Regions from separate parts of the Homo sapiens genome. Here region 1 is linked to region 2. The links are contacts of gene promoters, found by promoter capture Hi-C in blood cells and fetal thymus (Javierre and others, 2016). All regions are on one chromosome and are shown on one strand. The core of a region is centred on a gene start or on the middle of the fragment in contact, and the rest is flanking DNA. Distances in the headings are between cores, read along the strand shown. Region 1 holds the start of LCE6A (late cornified envelope 6A). Region 2 holds the start of SMCP (sperm mitochondria associated cysteine rich protein).

Region 1 (7,229 bases), core at 3,078-5,577, 35 kb before region 2:
CATAAAATACTATTAATACTTGGGCCACACAATAATACTAACAATAGATGATGGTCTAAAAAAAATCACAAAAAATTTCATGTTTTAAGAAGGTTTACAAATTTGTGATGGGTCACATTCAAAGCCGTCCTGGGTCACATGGGGCCCACAGGAGTTGAACAAGCTTGGCCTAGATTAACAAGCCAGTTCTGATGATATTATAGTCTTGAGTACAAGTCAGGATAATTGGTGGTTTGGATACCATCCTACCTGGAGGAAAGAGGTAGGACCAGATCTCTTGGCCTTTCTTCCTAAGAAAACATGAGCAGGGCTGGGTTCTAAAATAAGAAGTACCTGTAGAAAACATGATATAGATTTCTTTTATTTATTTATTTATTTATTTATTTTTTTATTATACTTTAAGTTTTAGGGTACATGTGCACATTGTGCAGGTTAGTTACGTATGTATACATGTGCCATGCTGGTGCGCTGCACCCACTAACTCGTCATCTAGCATTAGGTATATCTCCCAATGCTATCCCTCCCCCCTCCCCCCCCACCACAGTCCCCAGAGTGTGATATTCCCCTTCCTGTGTCCATGTGATCTCATTGTTCAATTCTCACCTATGAGTGAGAATATGCGGTGTTTGGTTTTTTTGTTCTTGCGATAGTTTACTGAGAATGATGATTTCCAATTTCATCCATGTCCCTACAAAGGACATGAACACTCCCCTCAAACTAAACTCTTTGGCACAGTCTAAGTAAAAATATAATAGTGTTCAGGAAATATAGTTGAGGTGCCCACAGTGTGATGTGGACAATCCCAAACTCACTGTAAGTGTCTGATTTCATCATGGCCTGAGTCTGTATTTCATCAGAATTAATTGACTCAGGACATAATATTTGAAAAGCATTCTGTAAACTAAAGTTCTTTGCAAACATCTGTGATGGGGATTTTTAAAAACTTAATAATTAACAAACCTAATAACTAGTAACTGTAATGAACCATTGTGTACACTGAAATGGGGCTTGAGATATACAGATAATAGCCCCATGTTCAAGGCATTAACAATATCACATACAAGTACAATTGTTTATGATAATAAATTATATGTATAACAAGTAATAAATGCTCTGAAAGATTTTCTCAGCCAGGCATTGTCTAGAAATTCATTACAGAGAACACGGGATTTGAACTGGCCCTCGGAAGTAGTCTCAGAAGAGGAACCAAGAAAGACAAGAAGTAAGACACAAAGAAAGACAAAAAGAAAAAGAAAAAGAAAGAAAAGAAAAAAGAAAGGAAGAAAGAAAGAAAGGAAAGGAAAGAAAGAAAGAAAGAAAAAAGAAGGAAGGAAGAAAGAAAAAAAGAGAGGAAGAAGGAAGGCAGGCAGGCTGAGGAAATAAGAGGAAGACAAAGAGATAGAGTGGAAAAGGGAGGAAGAAAGAGAGGTAGAGACAGACGGACATCAGACAGGATAAAAGCCAGTTCACCATACAATAAATCCATCCATTCAGCAGAGGAGGAGACATAATGAAAGGAAGTTCCAGAAGTTAAGCATAAAGCGATGGGATAGGTTCGAGTATACACAGGGACTTGAATGCTGGCTAAAGGAATTTAGATTTATCCGGAAGACATCAGAGTGTTCTGAATGAACACTTAACAGTCAGGGCAATTATTCATTAAAAACATAAAGCAAAATAAAAGAGATTTTAAAAATATATTTGAGGAGTTACTTCAGGAATAGTTAAATGATTTGAGATATCAGAAAGAAATTGACCAAAGAGAAACCCAGTCATGGGAAGCCAAGCAACTTCATTTGAGGCTGGGGACCTAGAGATATCTCTTGCTCAGAGAAACAGTCTCCTGAATAGAGACCAGGAATGAGATGGGATTATTCTCAGAGATGGGCTCCTGTCTTCAGACCAGGTGGGGACTCTGATAATGGTGGGAGCTACATACTTGAGACACTACCTTTCTAATTTGGTACATTTAAGAGGACTAGTTGTATTCTCAAGCTACAACTACAGTTTGCCTATTTGCCGATTTTTCACTTACAAGCTTGTGTTACCTATTAATTTGTCTGTATTCCCTCTGGAGAGTGAAAGCTTTGAAACATAATATAGACATCTTATTCTTTCTTGTATCCAGTACATAGTTGGGACTTAATAAATATCAAATCACATAATTATAGACACAATCTGAACCAGGAAGAGAAGTGGAGTGGGATTAGAATAAGAACATTACATTTCTGTGGTCCTGATTTAAAACTGGCTGGACTTTTAAGTTTATCTGGAAGACAGTGCAGCTCAGGGGCCTCAAACAGGCTCACTTAATGAGCTAGGCAAATCTAGATGCTGGACACACTCCATCCTATATGTGATGAAATTCACTGTACTGAAAAGGAGGGGGCTAAGAGATTTCTGTGGGCAATTTATTATGGGAGGTGGTCTGGGAGAGATATAGAAGGGGCAGGAAGTGTAGTTTGCCTAGGGCAGAGCCTCCAGAAAGAACCCTCAGCCCTAGGCAGAGACAGTAAGGGTTGGGTACTTGCTAGTTAACTTCAAAAAAATGCATTTGTGATGTGTGAGGTCTCTGAAGCATGTGTTTAAGTGGTGCAGGTCTTGGGTGGGGAAAAGGAGCAACTGGTGCATTGAGACCAGTGTTACTTTGCCTTCCTGCTAATGCTTAGTGCAAGGGAAGCACTTCTGAGGCACCATCAGAGTTATTTCTGGTGTCTGAGGGAAGAAAAGAGGAGAAAGAGAAGGAGAGAGAAAAGGGAAAAGGAAGTAAAGGAAGATGGGGTCTATCCCTGAGGCTGTCTAAATCAGGCACTCTCTCTCCAGGGCTCTGCTCTAACAGAGTGAGCGAGGTTTCATACCATTCTTCCACCTGCTGTTTCACTCACAAAGATCTTCTCTTCCTCCATCCAAACTGCATCTCAAAGTTTTCCCAGATGAAGCAATTGAAACCTGATGATCCTGCCCTGCTGGATTTTGGGATCCAATAGCTGCTCCTTTTCTGGCCTTGTCCTATTTTCCACCCTGGTCTTCATACCCTCTCCCATACCCCAACCCTACTCACCTTTGTCCTATACATGATTTGAAGGCCTTTGAGGACTGCCCCTACAGTCAGAATGTTCCTTGTAATTGCTCATCTTTTTATTTACCCAACTGTTTCCTGAATACCTACTGTGTGTCAGGCATCAGAAATACAGAGGCAGGTGAGGCACACTCTTGAGCAGCAGGGAGTTTCATCAGTGCCTTTTAACTTAGCTGGGCACACCAGGAGCGATTCTGAGATGGAAGCATCCAGAGGTGAGGGACTGTGTTTAGAGAATGTTCCCAATTTAAGCACTGCCAAAACATGATTATCTCAATTTTCATGAAAGCTAAAGAAGAACTTTTCACTCTGTGGAAGGCTTTTCCACAATGTCCCTTGATAATTCCAAGAACAGCTCCCCTTTTGCATTTAAGAGACAGCAGGTGTGTGAAGGTTTTGCTTCCCACCCTCTGCTCAGCCTATTGTGTAAGGTGAGGTCCACCCACAGAGTTCCCTGTAGTATTTATGAAAGGGTGTTCACAAATGCCTTAGGGGAGAATGATGGAAACAAGAAGTCAAGGTCTCGTCCACAAAACAAAATGAGTTGGGCTTTATTTTATTCCTGTTTTTTTCTCCTGAAACACAAAGTCTTTTCTAATGGCACATAGACTGTTTCATTCAACAAATACTAATGAGTATTTTCTTTGTGTCAGGAACAACATCAGGCTCTAGGAATGCAGAAGTGATAAAGGCACTGTCATCAAATAACAGTTTAATAGGTGAGATAGGATATGTATCTTGGTCACACGACCCAAAGCAATAGTAAAGGCTGTGACATGTATCTATAAAGGTCAGAGGATGAAGGACTCATGTGTGGCTAGAGCAATGGGCCAATCTCCACAGAGGTGATGACACGGAATGGGATGCTGACAGTCATGGATGATGGGTGGGGAGTAGACAAGGAAGGTCTTCCTCAGACCCTGGGTGATGTCGAACCTGATTTTTCCCTCCAATCCTACATAGAATTCAACAGCAGCTGCAACCCGCCCAGCCTCCCAAGGACATCATCCAGATTAGCCAGTGTACCCACTTCTGCGTAGGCCAATCTGAAGGCCCCAGCCTTCTGCTCACTCACGCACCTGCAGATGCCTTTGAACCACATCCCAGCTACATGTAGCTGAGGAATCTAGCACTGGGAATTGTGAAATACCCAGATCAATCATCCACTCCATGGCTCTCCTCCAATGACATGTGGCCTGGAGGCTTCAACTGGAGGATATATAAAAGAGCCTCTTACTTCCTGGCAACACAAGGCCTCCAGACTCCTCCTGGGATAACTTGTCCACACATCTTCCACTAGGGTAAGGCTACTTCTGGCTGAGGAGACACTTGGATGTAGCTCAAGTGCTGCTTAGGCAGTCCTGATCTCTCCTCTCGTCTCTTCCCAGGGAGCTGAAAAGCCAGGTAGGAGATGCTTGGGGTAGAAAGAAGGGAAGAGAAGTGGATCCCTGCAAAAGAAAGACCCCAAATAATCTAACATGGGAGAAAGCCATAGAAGTTAGAGGGCCAGAAAAGCAGAGATGGGACAGTCAGACTTAGGAGTCTGGGGACAGAATAAGACAGAGTAAAGAAAGAGCAGAGACTTGGCTCTCCTTTGCACTTAACCAGGTGGACATTGGGCTGGGAAAAGTAAACTGTCAGCTCAACTAAGTACAATTTGTCTTTTTTTTTTTTTAAGGAAGCATATATCATTAACATGGTTATTAGTAAGTGAGTCCCCTGGGAAGATTTACTCCCAAATATTTAGTCCTTTCAAGTCCGTTTTTCTCCTCCTGAGATGGAGTTCAGTGGGTTGTAAATGCTGGACTTCATTTTTGACAGCTCCAGTTTGTGGAGGAGAGAAACAGAAGCCCAAGCTGCCTGGGTCCCTGATATAACTATTTTTCTTCCAGATTCGACCTGGTAGCCAAGCAATGTCACAGCAGAAGCAGCAATCTTGGAAGCCTCCAAATGTTCCCAAATGCTCCCCTCCCCAAAGATCAAACCCCTGCCTAGCTCCCTACTCGACTCCTTGTGGTGCTCCCCATTCAGAAGGTTGTCATTCCAGTTCCCAAAGGCCTGAGGTTCAGAAGCCTAGGAGGGCTCGTCAAAAGCTGCGCTGCCTAAGTAGGGGCACAACCTACCACTGCAAAGAGGAAGAGTGTGAAGGCGACTGAGCCCAGAAGAGTTGAGGCACAGGTGCAGTTACTCTCTCCCTGCCCCACCTTTGGGTACTAATTCCCCCTTGGAAAGCCAGGCCCTCAACCTCTCATTTGGACTGAGAAACACTTCCTGATCCCCAGCTCTAGAGAAGCGAGAACTAGGCTGAGCCACGCTGCTACTGCTCTCTTCCATTCACCCCTTCAGCTCAGCAACAATAAAGCTGCTTTACTTGGAGCCCTGACTTCTGTGAGTTCTTGAGACCCCTGCTCAGATGTACTGAGACCCCCGCTTCAACCCAAGTGCATGGTGCTTCTCCTCCTTCCTCTTAAGACAGCTGATAGTATTTTTAAGAAGCAGATGTTCTGGGATTTATGTCCCAGTTTCCAGCAGCCTCACAGCCATCAACCCATGTCATTGCATGATTCTAGCACCAAAGACTACAATAAACATATGTTGAGCACCTACTGTGTACTGGCCTCTGTGTTTACAGATGTAAGTGGGAAATTTGTCCCTGCTCTAGAAAGCTTATAATCCAGTAGGAGATGCAATGGACACTTCAGATAGAAACAAGTGGATTAGTAAATATCATTTTAAGCTGATTAATTTACTCATTTTTATCTCTCATTTGTGTTCAAAAGAACTTAAAGCAGAAATTTAAAAAGTACCTTAGGTCAAAGACAGCAGAGAGAGGAGAACCATTCTGATGGTGTGGATCAAATGTGGTTTCCTAGGCCTTGGAAGGAAAGAGAGTATCCCACTTGGGAGTGGGGAGAAGAGGCTCCCAGACCTCTAAAGATAGCAGACTTTGGTGCTAGGAGGTGCAGTGAAGAGGAAAGTTCATCCAGGTGGAAGATCCAGCATAAACAAATGCATAACAAGGGTGGTACTTGCCAATGGTGTGTATTTCAATTTGGCTGGAGTGCCAGGTGTGAGATGAGAGATATGACACAGTTCATAACCCCAAGTCTTCATGATAATTCAAACCAGCTGAGTTTACTGAGCTTTAGGTATCAAACACCAGCTACCAAAAGATCATACCTCTGGGAAAAGTCTGGGCCCAAACCCCAAGTCTAGTAGTCTGAGATGAGGGAAGCATGACATAAATTACACAGACTTGAAGGGGACTTGAAGCTCAACTATGATGCATATAAATATAAGTTTATGTAAATAATTTTGTTGATCTGCATTTTTGGCAAGACATTAAAAGCATTACTTTTTTTAACCAAATATCCAACTCAATAGATTGTATTGACCAGGCTCAGAACAGAATTTCAACCTGTAATATCCAGTATATGGGATTCTCATTTTCAGAGCTTAGTAATTCTCCTCATTGCTGGGACATGATGTCACCTTTGTGATGACACACATCTATATGCAGATATGTATCATGGTTATATATAATTATAATTTCATATGCATGATTTTTCTCATTAAACAAATGACACACACTTGTATAAAGATTTGTTAATGGGCATATGTAACTAACCTGCACAATGTGCACATGTACCCTAAAACTTAAAGTATAATAAAAAAAAAAAAAGAAAAAAAAAAGATTTGTTAATGGAGATAAGCTTAAGGAAGATGACTAAGATCAACCTAAAAATCCTATCACCTAAAAATAACCATGGCTAATCATTTCATAGATGTATTTGCAAACCTTTAAACATCACACAATGGGTTCATTACAGAATACTTTATAACCTACATTTTTTTTACTGTTAAGTAAATGGTAAAATTGAACAAGAGTCATTGTCAATACTCTTCCATGCTGGTAAATATTGATCAACACTATTTACACATGATATTCACAAACACATCATGGTCTGCATAACTAGGTCTCCAATACTGGGCATTTATGTTGTTTTTGCACTTGCTGTCAAGTGTAATTTAAAATAATCATTCCCATTGATAGTTACTCTTAATTTTCTTAGAATAAGTTTTTAGAATTGGAATAAATTAGCAAAACTATGAAGACTTTTTCAGACTCTTCAGCAAGACTGCATTTTGG
Region 2 (6,440 bases), core at 3,074-5,573:
GGGGTTTTTTGTGCATAAAATAACCCTGAAAGGATATTTCAGAAATTGATCTCTGTGAACTGAAGTAATTGGAGTTTCAAGTTGGGGATTTCACTGTGTATCCTTTGTAACTTCTGATTTTAGGCCCAAGTGAATGTGTGATAATGATCACTATTAATAATATTAAAGGAGATGGGCCATGCTCCGTGGTGCATGCCTATAATCCCAGCAGTTTGGGAAGCTGAGGCAGGAGGATCTCTTGAGCTCAGAAGTTCAAGACCAGCCTGGGCAATGTGGCAAAATCCCATCTCTACAAAAGATACAAAAATTAGCCAGGTGTAGTGGCACGCACCTGTAGTCCCAGCTACTTGGGAGACTGAGGTGGAAGGATCACTTGAGCCCAGGAGGTCAAGGCTGCAGTGAGGCAAGATCACACCACTGCACTACAACCTGGGCAACAGGGTGAGACCCTGTCTCAAAAAAAAAAAAAAGGACAAAAAAAATTGCATTAAAGGAGACCTGCAGGAAGCAGAGCCTCAAATGCTGGAACCCAGGAAGACAGCACCATAAGGACTCGCTCCGCTCCGTTACTGGATGTAATCACATCATTACATTAGCAAATTCCTGCAAACTGGCCTCAACTTTTCTCACCATCAATTAACATAGCCCATGCAGCAAAGAAAGATGGTAATAGTCTTCCCCACTTTTGATAACAGAGGCAGAAAAACATAAGGAGGTAGGAGTGTGGCTGCCGCGGGACACATTCTGCTAGTTTGGATGATGCATTGAAAACAGCCTTAAAAAATGAGTTCCCCAATTTGGACAAGCAAGTTGGGAGTTATTGGCAGAAAAAGTTTGATTTAAGAAAAAAAGACCAACAATCACCATTCATGCATTTAACTAATATTTTTGAGTATTTACTATGTATTAGGAACTATTCTGACTGAGAGCCTGAGATATATCAGTAAACAACATTTGCCTTTTTGGCAATGACATTCTAATGAGAGAAGACAATACATAAAACTATAATAAATAAAAATTAGCTCATTTTAGTGCTATGAGATACTGGTCTTTATATTATACTTATATTATATTGTATGTGAAAAGTACTACCAAAGGAAAACAAAATAGGACTGTGTAAAGGTGACTGGAGTGAGGGCAAGTGTGGAAGATTGTCATTTTAATTAGGAAAATCAGTGTGTACCTCACCGAGAAATTGATATTTAAGCAAAGACTTGAAATACAAACAAAAGGCCCTTAGTGGCATGCTTGTGCATTCGTATGCATGTACACATGTGCACACACCTGGCCTGCTGCAGGAACAGCAAGGAGGTGAGTGTGGCTGCAGCAGAGCAAGTGACAGGAAGAACAGTAGGAGATGAGGTCCAAGGTGTGTGTGGAGTTGGGGGTCAATAATGCAGGGCCTTGTGGGCTATTGTGAGGACTTCAATTTACCCAGCAAGGCATGGAAAGCCACTTCAGGTTTTTGAGCAGGAGAATTACATGATATGACTTATGTTTTAAAGTCCACCCCAACTGCTCTGCTGAAAACAGACAATAGAGGACCAAGAATAGAGCAGAGATACCAGTTAAAAGCTGATTAGAAAAGTCAGCAAGAAATCATGGTGTCTCAGAGTAGGTTGGCCACAGTTACAGATGGATTCATTTTGAAGTTAACAGAATTTACTGATATTAACTGAGTGTGAGTTATACAAGACAGAAGCCAAGGAGGACTCAAAAGTCTTTAGCTTGAGCAAATGGAAGAATAGAGTTAGCATCTTCTGGGCTGAGATGTCTAGGGGTAGAGGATGTTTTCAGGAAAATATCAATAGCTCAGTTGTGAGCACATTAAATATGAGATGTCTATTAGATATCCATGTGAGAATACTAAATAAATAAGCAGTTGAATATGAAAGTCTGAAGTTCCGGAGAGATTTCTCAGCTGTTATTAACAAAGTAGACACCATCATCAATGACATATAGATGGCCTTCATGGTCAGGAGACTGAATGTTCTAACCAAGAAAATGAGTATTGATGGAGAAGAAAAGAGAACCAAGGACTCCAGCAGGAAGTAGCCAGGCAGAAGAACAGGAACACAAAGAGTTCCAAGTTAATGTACTGGCTAAATTATTCTTCCATGTATTTATTTACTAAATGTGGATTTAGTACCTAGGATGTTCCATACATTGTGTTGGAAATAGAATTTAAATGGTGAGCAGAAAGTATATCTATCCTCACCTTCTAGATAGCCTTCATTAGCTTAATTTTAACAAACTAATATGCATCATGGTTAAAAATTCAAATAGTTTGTGTGTATTTGATTCTTCTAGGAAAATATTTATGTATACTAACATATATGTTTATCTTATTTTGTATATATCTCCGTATATACATTCTTTTTATAAGAAAAGGAATATACTAACATATTGTTTACTGGATTGCTTTCTTTGATTACATAGTTGGGAGAATTTTTCATAGCATCATCTACAACTGGACTCTGTTTTTATTAGCTATATACTATCCTATTACATGATTGTAAAATGAAATCTCATTAACAGAATATGAAAATACCTGTTTCTCAACATATTCATTAACAACTAATGTGATCAAAATTTCATATTTGTTGCCAGACTGTCATAGAAAAGCCAGTGTCTCATTGATCTTCTGGTTTGCATTCCTTTAGTTATGAATAAGCATTTCTTCATAGATTTGTTGGCCATTTCCACCTCTCTCTCTCACTCTACCTCTCTCTCCCTCTCCGTACTCTTCCTAGAAAGAACTTAATTCTTATAGATTAAGGCTTTGGTCCCAACTACAATGTTAGAGACTTTGGGAGATGTGAATAAGAGTAGACATTTTACTGAGAATAAATTTTAGAGATAACTATAAGCATGAAGACCTGAAGAAGACAAGTAAAAGAGAAATACTTGAATAGGCTATTATAGAATGAAAAGCACAATTCACATACTTCCCAAGAGTGCTACCCTTTGGCCGAGGTGGTTCTGTCCTGGACTTCAGACTTTAAAGAGTCCTTCTCTGGCTCTCCTCCAGCCATGACCCACCCCCATAGGATGATTCAATAGGTCCAGGGTACAGGCCCAGAGCTGCTGTCTCTCTCACTCCAGCTATCCAGGACCCCAGAAATCTCTGTCAACTGGCCCTGAGATCACCTTTATGTGTCTATCCTCTTGAAGACTCAAACAGCCAATACTGTGCTCACTTCTAGGTCTCAATGACCAAGAGAGGGGCAGTTTGAGAGATCCATGTATGAAAAGAACATGGACGGTATGGACTAGGATATTTACACTCATGCACGCCCGAGGTCCCTCGTGACACAAGATGAAGCCAGGGAGTAGGAAGAGAACCAGGGGTGAACCACAGGGGTCAGAAGCCTCTGTTTGTGCTCTTGCCTGGTGTCCTACAAATGTTTATGGCAGGCATGCTTCCCAGAAGAACAGAATTTCCTAGTCACTGTCCTCAAAGAGGCCATGCTACAGGAAGAAAAGGAAAGAGTAAACATAATGAAATGCTTCTCTCTTATCATTATTTTAGTCAATTCACTATTCAATTGATTCAGTTTCAGAATCTTTTATGTGCCAATTGCTCAGCCAGACACTGGGAATATCAAAGTGAATAAAATAGGGTCCTGGCCCCTAAGGCATCCCAGTTTCTCCCCTGTTTAAAACCTTTCAGTGGTTCCCATTGTCCTCAGGATAAAGTCCAAACTCTTTTTCTTATGGCATAAAGGTCCTCACCAACACAGCCTTACCTACCTAGGTAGGTGAATCTCCCCCTTCTCCTTACTCCCCACTCTGCTCCAGCCACACTGAGCTTTTCCACCAAATAGCCTATACTTTCACATTTCTGGATCTGAAAATGTCCTCCCAGACACACCCCTATGTCCAACTTCCTATTTCCAATTTCCAAGTCTCAGCTTAAATATCACTCCCTCCAGGAAGCATATCTGACCCCCAAACCTGACCCCTGTGCTTATCCTACCATCATTATTATCACATGGTATTGTTGGCTATTGACTTGCCTCCATATTGAATTAGATCTTTGAGAATGGGAACTACATCCCATTGAGCTACACTTCACTTTTTAGGACAGAGCCTGGTAGATAGGAGACAATCAATACAGATTTGTGTTTTAGGTTATTGCATGCTTATGGGTTAGCTAGGGAGCTTTCTTTTTATCTTTCAGGAAAGAAACCAAAGAGACAGACTCTCCAGCAGGCAGGGGGCGCCAGTGAGTGAGCTAGGCATAGAGTCTTGTGGAGAGAATTATGGTGTCATAGAGGCTTAGAATCTTGGCATTAGCAGGGAAGGGAACCCATCTGGTTCAGAAGGCTTTGGCTTCTGATAGTCATGGACTCACTAGGCTGCTGAGGAAGATCAATAATACCTACTGGAATCAGTCATGAGAAGTCAAGCATGGAAATTGTGAATTGTGTGTGTGGCCAGACCAGGTAACACAGAGAAACATTGTCTTTTGGGTCCTCTCTCCATGGCTTTTTCATGTGTTCATTAGTTCATTACGTATTTACCTACTGAGACCCATGCAATGCCATTCAGTGTGTTGGATGAGAGGATTCCAGGATTCATCCTATCTTTCAGGAAAAAGCTCCTGCTTCTATTTAAGAGGAAGACATGGGAGCCACTGGGGGTGGGGATAGTGAGAATGCCTGTGTTTATGGAACTAACAGACCACAAAAGTGAGACAATTGGGAAAATAATAACCACTATAAAAATGTAATGGGAAGTACAGGGGATCCAAGAAAGCCTTTCAGGGAGATGGAGGTTTTGGGTTAAGGAAGTTTTCCTCGAGGAGTGATGTGTAAGCAGAGACTTCAGGTTTGAACGATATTCAGTGAGCATGTGGGGACAGAGACCCAGGAAGGGTGGTTTAAGCTGGGAAAGAGCACATTCAAAGACCTGGAAAGAGGTGAGAAAATTCAGCAGGTGTCTGCTCTGAGCCAGTCTGGTGCCTGAGGGAACAGTGTTTGGACATGAGGCTGGGCCTGTGGGCAGAGGGAGAAGGTGCCTTGCCAGAGCCCTCCTGGTGGTTTGGGCTCTGTATCAATCCTCTCTGAATAGAGCAATAAGAGCTAGGAAGATGGCCCTGGCCTTGCACCACAAGTGTTTGACATGATTAGGCAGATTTCCTGAGGCAGGCTGTGCACAGCATGGTTGGGAAGGAAGGGAAATGGAGCTTGGAGAGAATATTTATTTATTTGTTTGTTTCTTTTTATTTATTTATTGAGATGGAGTCTCACTCTGTCACCCAGGCTGGAGTGCAGTGGTGAGGTCTCGGCTCACTGTAACTTCTACCTCCCGGATTCAAGTGATTCTCCTGCCTCAGCTTCCCAAGTAGCTGGTATTACAGGTGCACGCCACCACACCCAGCTAATTTTTGTATTTTCAGTAGAGATGGAGTTTTGCCATGTTGGCCAGGCTGGTCTCAAACTCCTGACCTCAAGTGATTCACCCGTCCCAGCCTCCCAAAGCGCTGGGACAACAGGTGTGAGCCATTGTGCCCGGCCAAGGAGAGAATCTTAAGAAGAAACTCTTGCAGGAGGCAGAGGGGTCCAGGAGGCAGGTTTGTTGGACAGGAGCCAGGGTTCTGAAAGTGGAGGATATAGATACTATTCACCAGGCAGAAGGAAGACAGTGGAGACAGCACTGGCTCAGAGGGGCAGGACCTGCATCCATGGGGGTGAGGTTGCAGAAGGACTTGATGTTGCCCTCCCTATGCTACAGTCAACAAGACTGGTTTCCAACCTGCTGTCCTTCTCTGATATTGCACAACCTCCACATTCAGGACCTATTCCCAGGATCTCACTATGGGGGACATGCTTGGAGTGGGGACATTGGTGGGACTGGTGAGGCAAGCCCCTGGACCTGGGCTCCAGGTGCCTCTGATGCCTCTGCACCTCTGATCACTGGAATGAGAATTGCTTCTGTAGAAACAGCTCAGTCTGGACTTGTAAAGATGGACACTAACAAACTGGACTTCCAAGTGGTGATGAGACTCTGCACTTTGGTCAATTCAGGGCACTGACCTTCAGAGTAGAGAAAGGTAAACCAGAGACAAAAGACAGAAAGGTAGAGACAGAATGAAGACCAGAGAATGATAGAGAGGCAGAGAGGAAAAAAAAATAGCAAAAGGCAAAAATAAACACAGAGAGGAACAACAGAAAATAAAAACAGAAGGGGCTCACTCCTCCCTCGTCCCTCTCAAAACCTAGTCTTAGGTCTGACCTCTAAGGGAGCAGATTCAAACAACAAGGAGATACGGACAGATACTGGGCTCCCTGCATACCCCGGCACACCCAAATTCACCACTGTACAGCTGCAGGGGCACCCAAGTGTGTGCTTGTGTGTGCGTGTGGACACACACACACACTTCCTGTCAAACAGCTTTGAACACTGCAAAGGTGGTAGAGAACATGGCCCTGTAC

The links. Contacts are between HindIII fragments. The CHiCAGO score rates a contact against its expected background, and 5 or more counts as called.
Region 1: a contact is called between the fragment with the promoter of LCE6A here and the fragment with the promoter of SMCP in region 2, in 2 of 17 cell types (total CD8 T cells and total CD4 T cells). The highest score is 5.5, in total CD8 T cells.

What each region holds. Positions count from the first base shown.
Region 1 is chr1:152,838,529-152,845,757 of GRCh38, forward strand. It overlaps LCE6A (late cornified envelope 6A), which reads left to right and starts at 4,328. Exons shown (of 2, transcript NM_001128600.2): 1 at 4,328-4,483; 2 at 4,972-5,455. The coding sequence starts at 4,993. The coding sequence ends at 5,235. The HindIII fragment of the contact is 3,660 bases long and covers 2,084-5,743 here.
Region 2 is chr1:152,873,999-152,880,438 of GRCh38, forward strand. It overlaps SMCP (sperm mitochondria associated cysteine rich protein), which reads left to right and starts at 4,324. Exons shown (of 2, transcript NM_030663.3): 1 at 4,324-4,448. RefSeq lists an enhancer at 6,240-6,319. The HindIII fragment of the contact is 18,030 bases long and covers 1-6,440 here.